Linked DNA regions of Homo sapiens: region 2 is linked to region 1. The links are contacts of gene promoters, found by promoter capture Hi-C in human tissues and cell types (Jung and others, 2019). All regions are on one chromosome and are shown on one strand. Each heading gives the region's core, a stretch centred on a gene start or on the middle of the fragment in contact. The rest is flanking DNA. Distances are from core to core; before and after follow the strand shown. Region 1 holds the start of CRYBG3 (crystallin beta-gamma domain containing 3). Region 2 overlaps RIOX2 (ribosomal oxygenase 2).

Region 1 (4,868 bases), core at 333-2,832:
AAAACCATAATTCATTAATTAAATCCTATTGACTCCCCCCCATTTTTATTCCAAGAAAAACTTCCTGAACGAAGTACCCTCTGGGTAGGCACTGGGGCCTGGTTTGATCACAGAACAAGTCAGGGACAAATGTGATAGTCATTCAATAATACGTTGGGAAGACAAATTATCATTTGGGCCTTTTAGCTGGAAGAAACAGTTTGCTTTATTACTCTCTTTGGGCTTTTTGGTAAGTGGGTCTTCAGTGGAGATTCTCTTATAAAATAATAAAGCTAGAATTGGGAACTTGTCTTATTCTAGTCTATTATCTTAGTCTTTTTCTATTTTCTCAGACTAGGCTCACAGAGAAATAGGAAAAATTTACCAAAGAGTAAAAAAGGATTAATCTTGAGGGATAGACTGAGATGAACCCGATTGATGGAAATCGGGCTGACTGAACTTTAATGGGTTAAATCCTGCCAGAACAAATGAGAATGAGTGTCTTGGCTCTATTGCAGTTAGTAGGAGCTGGAGGGCTTCTGGGAGGCAGCGTGGGGAGGCAGGGAGGCTCAATAGCCTCCAGCAGGTGCTGAAAGGACTTGGGGCTTATAGGTATGCAATCTACTTATGAGCAACCTTCTCCTCCAGCACCCGAAAGCCAGAGGGGAGATTACTCCAAGGCTCCCCTCTGCTGTGGACATTTCATTTTTATCTCATTTACTTGTATACATTTTTTAATGAACAAAAGCCATATCACTTCCTTGACGTCTACTCCAGGGGCAGCTTGCCTTCAAACAAAAACAAAACACTTGGGGTGAATGGGCCTCTCAGTATCTCCTGTACTAGCTGCTATAGGGTATGAAAAACCAAGAAAAATCCATACCACTGTACTTAGACTTAAAACAAGTCTTAAGCACCCTTTGGTTCCCAGATTTCAGTGGCATCTGTGTAACGACTGCAAAATATGTTGCAGCATTGACAAGCTTGAAATCATACTTTTTGATCAGTGCCGTTTTTGAAAGAGTTCGCAGGGAAGTATGGCGTGTGAAAAGTCTGAAGCACAGCGCGGTTAGGAAAAGTCACACCACAGAAAGCCAGCAGAACGCGCCGGGAGGTGGTGACCGCCTGACAGGTACCCCCTTCTCCCTCCCGCCGCCCGGTTCTGTGCTAACGCGACTTTCGCCCTCAGGGTTGGAGCTGTATTTGCGGTAGCTGTTTCTTAGCTCCCAGCAAGTCCGGGGCGCCCCGGTACTGCAGTTTGCCAAGTGTTTTCACAAACCTTAGTTCATAAACCTCTTTCAAAAGCCCGAAGAAAACCGTTTCTGTGCTCTGACTGTAGAATAGAAAACACAACGGTCACAGAAAGTAATTGAAGGCAAAGCCCAACAGGCTGCAGCCTGAACTTGTTTGAGCCGTAAGCCCGAGCCTAGCGTCGCACGCTGGGCGACTCCCCTCAGGCTCTCAGGCCGGCGCCTTCGGGGGACCACGTAGCGCCCCAGCGGTGGCGGCTGCGCCCGGCTCAGGGCGGTGCCGCGGCCACTGGCTCCTCCTCGGGGTGGGGCGGGCCGCGCCGGGCGAGGGCGGGAGGAGGAGCAGCCGCAGCGGCGTGAGGAGCTGCCGCGCGAGGAGCGCGTCGCGTCCGCACTTCTCCTGCCCGAGAGAGACTGAGCCGCGCTGGCAGCTCGCGTCGAGTCGGTCTGCCCTAGCCGCATCCCGCGGCGCCCGGTCGGGCTCCGGGCACCAGGCAACACCTAGGCCGTTCCCTTCAGACAGCCCCGGGCCAGCGGCCCCCTCGGGAAATGTCCAGCGGCCGCAGAAGGGGCAGCGCCCCCTGGCACAGCTTCTCCCGGTTCTTCGCTCCCCGAAGTCCTTCCCGGGACAAGGAAGAGGAAGAGGAGGAGAGGCCGGGGACGAGCCCGCCTCCAGCTCCAGGCCGGTCCGCTGCCAGGTGGGAGTCGAGGAGGGGGTCGCGGGGGGGCCCTGCACATATTCGCGGGATGAAGGCTCCCGGCCTGACCGCCGGCAGCGGGCCGCTCTTGGGCCAGGCTGCAGTTCGCTCGCCACTTTCTGTTCTCCTTCCTCCATTGCTAAAGTTTCCTCCTCCTTGCCCCGTTCCCGTGCCGCACTACTCGCCTCTCCTCTGCAGGTTAAATCGGGGTGAAGTTCTTGCCCGGCAGCCGGACGCATATCCCCCGATCCCCGCCTGGCTCCGCGCTCTTCCTTTCCCACTTTCCCCTGCCCGGACGTGATTGGGTTCCCGTTCCACACACGCTCTACTCTCCAAGTTCTGTGGCAAAAGCGATTTCCCCGGCGTCCCGCCTGCAGTAATGGGAAACACTTGTGAGCCGAGCGGAGCCGTCGGCCAGGGGAATTGGGGGCGCGATCCCAGCACCACTTGTGTGGGAGGAGATCGGGGCAAAAGTGGAAAAGGTAAAGCTTTGGGGCGTCACCCCCTCAGCTGGTATTTTTGCCATCTTATTTAAATTTTCTCAAAATGATTTTTAAAAGGAATTGTGATAATGCGTTCCCAAGACTTTCACCAAAATGGACTGGACATGTAAATGACGCCACCCTTCTTTATTTCTCATCTCTCCTAGAAACATCTGCCTCAAGTTCCCAAACAGATTCTGGAAATCAGGTTTCCAGCTGTCTTGGTTTCAGTAATCAAAATGTACCCTTTCTCTGTAATATTTTTATCTTTCCTTCACTTTCCCATGTTCAAAAATCAAAAAATTTTAGACATGCCTCATTTAAATGCCTGTTTCTGAGTCTTTTCATCCCCCCGAAGAAAGAGGGGTTAAGTAAAACGCAGCTCGCTTTCTTAAACTTATGAGAGGCTTACACTGTCTTCTCCCGAGATTGCACTAGAATGACCATTGTCATTGGAAGGACACACTCCAGAAAACCGTGTTTACTTCGGACTCAAGATTTCCTGGTGGGCTTAAAAAAAATGGATAGGAAACAGAACTGAGAGTGAGCCAATTCCATTAGTATTCAGATTTTGTGATGTGATTTTAGTCGTTTGTGTGTTCCTCGGTTTCCCCGCTTGTGAAACATTTTCATTATGACCGTCTGTTAATAACATGCCACATGTTTCCAAGAAAGCTCCTACGATAATTGAGTGGTTATTCTCCTGGGACGTTTCAGCTATTATTGCTCTGACTGTTGAGAGTTTAAAATTCAAAGTTACACAGAAGTTAAAAATAGTTTTTAAGTCTGACAGATCTCATCCAGGGTGTCAGCTAGTTCTGTTGGTGTGGGCAGACAGCCTGTGGTGCCTGCCACCGCCGTAACAGCACTAACAGTCTTGGATAATATGAACGCAGTCTGCAAGGAAATCCCAAGTAGGCGCAGCAAAAGTTGGGAACTTGAGAGTCAGTGTTAGAAAGGAGTAAGCAGGTCAAATTCAGGCTCATGTCAGTAATGGCCTGAAATCCTGCTTGCCTCTCTGCCCTATTTTGGCTTTTTAAGGCACTTCTCAATTCTAATTTCTTTACTGACTGGAGCTGACCCCTCCAGCAACTAGTTCCTTGTTCACCTACCACTTCTCTATTCTCATCATCTCCAGATTGGCACAAATTATGGCTTTTCAACGATGAAGATTTTAATTGTGCTTATATCAACGCTAATTTTGTTCTCATCTTTTTTGGAACTTGCCAGATGTTAGGGGGATAGCAGATGACCCTTTATGTGGGTGTTTTACTGTTTTAAATGAGCTTAAATCTTTCATTTCAAGGGCATAAACAAACACAAAGCCTTTATTGAAAGTTTAATAAAACAAATGGAACCGCTTTATAGTACTGAATGTCCCAGTAACACAACACCCTGATGTTAACAAGATTGGAAACAGAATTGCAATTTGTCACTGTGATCTTATTTCAAAATGAAAGAGTATTTTGGCTATTTCTCTTTGTGGGCATAAAAACTTTTATCATTATGAGAGCTGGGTATACCTTCTGTAGTGATGATTTTAGATGAAGAGGAGTACAAAATTAAAAAATAAACTAAAACATAATTATGAGACCCGTAAAAGTCGAATTTACAACATCCTGAAACTGTTTTTTTGCCTGCTCACAAAATGCGTACTGGGACAAACACCAGGTCTTTGGGGAGCTGCCATGCCTTGATACAGGTCTTCCAATATTTTACTGTTTTGAACCATAGGAAAATCTTTGTTTTTATGGTGTGCTGTGATTTATATGGGCTTCAGTTGGTGACAACACTTCATTATGTATTCTTTCTTTGTCACAATTAAAGAAGGCCTATTAGCATCAACACTATTGTATATCCCAACTTAGGCGTAGGCACTCAAATTGCTTGATTGTACTCATATTAGGTGGTTGACCATTTCCAGGAAATGCTTATATTAATTTATTTTAGATGATAAAAAGGAAAACTGCAATTGAAGTTTTCATAGGAAACTCAAAAACTCCCAGAGTTCTGTGGATCCCAGTTTGAGAATCACTGGTGCAGTGTTAAGCCCAGTTTATAAGCATACAAGGAATGGACTCATTAGAAGTGATAGGGGAGACCAGGAAGTGCTTCCTGGTAGGGATGATTTTAACTGGGTCTTCAAGGAATTGGTGATGTTTCTATACAAAGAGAACTTAGGAAGAGAGAGAATAGGGAACAGGTATTCCGGGAAAAGGCATTCCAGACTGAGCAAAGGCCTGCAAGGGGTTTATGATCTGTTAGGGGATATATACATTAATGGGACAGAGTGAAAGGAGCAGTAAGAAATTTAGGTTGGAACTGGGTTATAAAGGTCTCTAGACAAAATGTTTGGCTCTAGATTTAAGGCTCAGAGAATTTTTGCAAAAGCCTGTTATACAGATATTGCTGAAATATGAAACTTGGAGGAATTCCTGCCTTTATCTGCTTCAAGAAAT
Region 2 (4,913 bases), core at 1,916-4,415, 140 kb after region 1:
CCTGGGACGCCTGCTTCCTCCCTCTTGCATGCTTCAGTGGTTAAGAGTAGGAGCTTGAATTTAGAGTCACACAGACACAGCCACTTACTGGCTGATGATCTGGCAATTTACCTGCCCAAAGCCTCAGTTTCTTTATCTGTAAAATGAAGTTTAATAGCCCCAAACCTTACAGGATTATTTTGAGGATTAGAGATGCTGCTTCCAAGCTCTTAGGGCAATGATGGGCATGTGATTGGATTATATGATTTTATCCGCCAGTCCCCCACTTCCTGATAATTTTTGAGTACTTCTAGGCGCAGGGTCTGTATCTTACCATCTTGTCTTTCCCAGAGCCTACCCTAGCAAAGCACCTAGCACTCAACACAGGCTCAATGAATGTTGGGATGAATTGAAAAACTATACAATCCCTATTTCAACTGAAAAATAAGATGTAATCAAAAATTCATCATTTTCTTGGGCAGCTGAGCCTCCTCTACCCTATTCCAAGTGGGTGGACCAAAACATTCTCCCCAAATTACTCCTGCCCTGAGCTGCCTCCTTCCCAATCCCACTCAGGCCAAAATATTCCATGTAGCAGCTACCTATGGAGAAAAGAGGGAATCTTGAGGGCAGCTCATCTTCTCTCTGCAACTACAAGAGGTAGTCTAGTGCAATGGTTAAGACCATGAGCCCTGGAGAAAGAGCTCAAGAAATGCCAGCTTAAAAAAAAAAATTAAGATTCTCCTCAAAGCAAGAGGAATATATCATGATATATATTCATAAGAGCTATCTTAGTTGCAAATTTTCCCTGAATGACAACAAACTGACAGTACTTCAAGTAAATGCTTTACTGATAATTATAACTATCATTTACTGAGTGTCTCTGTGCCAGCCTGAGTGAGACTCTCAGGTATACAGTCACATGCCACTTAACAATGGGGTTATGTTCTGAGAAAAGTGGTATGTCACTGCGCAAACATCAGTGTACTTACAAATCTAGGTAGTATAGTGTACTACCTACATTACATGGTACAGCCTACTGCTCCTAGGCTCCAAACCTATACAGCATGTGACTGTACTGAATACTGTAGAAAACTGTAACACAATGGTGTTTGTGTACTTAAATATATCTAAACGTGGACAAGAAAAAACACAGTATAAACAATAATAAATGGTACATCTACATAGGACTGGAAGTTACTCTGGGTGAGCCCGTCAGTGATGGTAAGTGAATGGGAGAGCCTAGGGCCCTACTGTACACTTTTATATGACTAGCAAAGAAGTAGGGTTGTTTAGACCAGCATCACCACAAACACGTGAGTAATGCGTAGCACTACAACATTTTACAATGGCTACAATAACACTAGGTGATAGGAATTTTTCAGCTTCATTATAACCTTATGGGACAACTGTCACATATACAGTCTGTTGTTGACTAAAATGTCAACTGGCACATGACTATATTTCATTCATTTCATACACATTTGCCCCACCCTCCTGGCTGGAAAACGTAAGTAAACATTCTCCCCTACAGCCTCCTGAAGGAATGCAGTACAGCAACCCTAGAGAGATCCCTTTTAGTCTCCTGACCTTCAGAAGCATAAAATAATGAATTTATGTTGTTTTAAACCATTGAGTTTGTGGTAATTTGACAAGAAGCAACAGAAAAACTCAGACAGACATACAGATATTGCCTCTAAAGATTTTTTTTTTTTTTTGAGACGGAGTTTCGTTCTTGTTGCCCAGGCTGGAATGCAATGGCGTGATCTCGGTCACTGCAACCTCCATCTCCTGGGTTCAAGTGATTCTCCTGCCTCAGCCTCCTGAGTAGCTGGGATTACAGGCATGAGCCACCACGCCCAGCTAATTTTGTATTTTCAGTAGAGATGGGGTTTCTACATGTTGGTCAGGCTGGTCTCGAACTCCTGACCTCAGGTGATCCACCTGCCTCGGCCTCCCAAAGTGCTGGGATTACAGGCGTGAGCCACCGCACCCCGCCTAAAGATTTATTGTAAAGGAGGCAGCAAAATAATATTTTTCAATCCTCATAGCCTGCAAGGTAAATATCATGATCTCTGTTTTAATAAAGAGGAAACTGAGACTTGGATTAATAACTTGACCAAGGACATACAGCTAATAAGTGACAGCAGCTGAATTCAAACTCAGATCTGTCAGATCCCTGAGCCACAGAGTGGTGTTTCCATCACAGGCGTGATCTCATCCTGGGAGTCTGGGTCTGCAGATGAACTGCACGGGCTGCCACTAGCATAGGGGAAAGAAGCGGATAAGGGCTCCAAGACCCCCACTGTCACCCTCCCATGCCCATCCCTCAACCACAGCCACTAAGCCTTTCTATTTCATCATTGGGCATTGACACAAGGTTTCGCCTGAAGAGGCCCACTGGTTAAAAGCTCAAATGTGGGCCAGGCGCAGTGGCTCACGCCTGTAATCCCAGCACTTTGGGAGGCCGAGGCAGGTGGATCACGAGGTCAGGAGTTTGAGACCAGCCTGGCCAACATGGTGAAACCGTCTCTACTAAAGATACAAAAAATTAGCCGGGCATGGTGGTAGGCAGCTGTAATCCCAGCTACTCGGGAGGCTGAGGCAGGAGAATTGCTTGAACCCGGGAGGCGGAGGTTTCAGCTAGCTGAAATCACGCCATTGCACTCCAGCCTGGGTGACAGGGTGAGACTCTGTCTTAAAAAAAAAAAAAAAAAAATGACATGCACATACACATACACACTTGAACAATACTGTACAACATGGTCTTTCTCTGTCCAGGAGACTCAGTGCATCTCCTAATGGACTCTGTGTTGACTGTTTAATGGGCATGGGCATGGCAACAATACAAAGAATCCACACCCTTTACACTTAAAGGCCACTATGAAGCCTGACCTTCTCGGGCAGAGCAAGTAGCCAGGTCACCGGCCTGAGTAACTCAGCCCTGACTTCCGAGAGTACAGATGGCTTAGTCTTTAAAGATAACCAACCGTGAATCTATGTAAACATGATGCAACAAAGCTGGCAACCTCTGTGAAGAGCCAAATGGAAAGACAGTACGTATTTTTGGTTTGCGGGCCATGTGATCTCTGTGGCAACTAGTCCGCTCTGCTGGTGTAGTATGAACACAGGACATTAAGGAATGGGTGTGGCTGTGTTCCAATAAACTACTTACAAAAACAGGCAGCAGGCCAGATTTTCTGGTCCATGGGCCACAGTTTGATGACCACTGACTAAAAGCATAAAAAAAACCAGTAAGGTTACCTTTACTGTTGTTTATTGATTTAAGTCTCCTGTAATATAGGCACCCATCCTAAACAGCAAGATTGTTTCCCTTAGTTACTGGGAGGTAGGTAAGGATTTTGAAATCAAGAAACACACAAGGCATTGAGTAAGAAACAGGCTAATTATAACTTCGAGACACAAGAAAAACAATAAGTATATGCAAATGTGTCAGGTTGGTAGAATCTTTGGAATGGTTTAAAATAACTATTGTTTTATTGCTAAAGGAAATTAAGTTACATGTTTTAAGAAAGAGTATAAAGTTGAATTATGGAACTACTCCTATCCATGTAACGTTCTTTTCCTCAACAACCTCTTCTGCTGGGGATTGGCTATGTTCCCATCGATGTTAACTGCTCAAAGACAGATTTTCTCAGCAGCAAGATGCCAAGGAACCTGCACATGATTAAGCCACCTGAATCCCCAGAGAAGGAATCCTCAAGAACTTTCCTGATTACTACTGTTCTGGTAACTATGCAGGGGGCACAGAGATAGCCTGACATATAACCAGGATGAAAATGAGTCACACTGGAATTTTAGCAACAACAACAAAAAAAACTAAGGGATCCCTGGCTATGTTCTGCCTAAGCAACTTCCAGCCCTGTGCTGACCATCGTCTTGGATGTGGAGAAGCTGCCCAAGGCCAGAGCTTCCATTTTTCCTCTAGAGGAGTCAGTGGTTCACTGAATTCTCTTTCTTCCTGTTGGACTTGAACTGTACATGAAAACAGGTTATTTGGGAAATGAACTTAATACTTCCTTAACCCACTTCTCCAAGTGCAAACCACCAAGACTCCTTCAGAAATTACATGTGCTGGCTGACAGCAATGAGAAGCACCCTGCCCTGAAACCCAGGGATATATTCCCACGGGGACCATCACACGAACTCTAAACCTTGAGCCTGAACTTGTCTTAGCAATAGGGGAAACCACAATGGCTCTAACAATGAGGTGCCCACAACGGTTATCACATACCTTCAGCATAAACTCATGCACCGGCCTGCCGATCCTTTCCTCGGCCTCCACGCTGTACTCTCGTGCCAGGGGCACAGTGGGGTGGTAGAGGCGCCAGTGTTTCTCTCCCTCCAGCTGCAGGATGAAAACCTAGAGACCCACAAGGCCCAGGAGCATCAGAGAGCTTCCTGACAACTCACACACAAAGTGCTTCCGGACTATTAGCCCTCTAAGGGGCTAATAGACAAATATATAGGTGAACCTTGAACAACACAGGTTTTTTTTTTTTTTTTTTTTTTTTAGTTGTTATAGACAGTCTCATTCTCCTGGCCAGGCTGGAGTGCAGTGTCACAATTACAGCTCACTGCAGCCTCTCAAACTCCTGGGCTCCAATGATCCTCTTGCCCTAGCTTCCTGTGTAGTTGGGAAGCTGGCATGCACCACAGCTCCCAGCTAATTTATCTTCTTTGTAGAGATGGGGTGTCACTTTGTTGCCCAGAATGGTCTTGAACTCCTGGCTTTAAGCACTCCTCTCACCTGGGCCTCCAAAAGTGATTACAGGCGTGAGCCACCACGCCTGGCCTAACAGCATGGGGATGAACCGTGCAGGTCCGCTTATATGCTGATTTTTTTCAATAAATTATATTGGAAAATTTGGAGGAGATTTGCAACAATTTGAAAAACATGAAAAATATCAAAA

What was found. Contacts are between HindIII fragments. The study calls those that stand out against the background at their distance.
Region 2: a fragment that was not itself captured here is called in contact with the fragment with the promoter of CRYBG3 in region 1 in 1 of the 25 tissues and cell types used here (hippocampus).

The regions. Positions count from the first base shown.
Region 1 is chr3:97,820,429-97,825,296 of GRCh38, forward strand. CRYBG3 (crystallin beta-gamma domain containing 3) reads left to right here and starts at 1,583. Exons shown (of 22, transcript NM_153605.4): 1 at 1,583-1,927. The coding sequence starts at 1,779. It overlaps LOC101929298 (a long non-coding RNA gene), which reads right to left and starts at 1,348. Exons shown (of 3, transcript XR_427389.3): 1 at 1,259-1,348. RefSeq lists a silencer at 1,360-1,729. The HindIII fragment of the contact is 4,138 bases long and covers 1-3,954 here.
Region 2 is chr3:97,954,817-97,959,729 of GRCh38, forward strand. It overlaps RIOX2 (ribosomal oxygenase 2), which reads right to left. Exons shown (of 10, transcript NM_153182.4): 4 at 4,235-4,363. Among named protein-coding and RNA genes, the nearest start is that of RIOX2, 15 kb to the right of the region's middle. The HindIII fragment of the contact is 6,932 bases long and covers 1-4,913 here.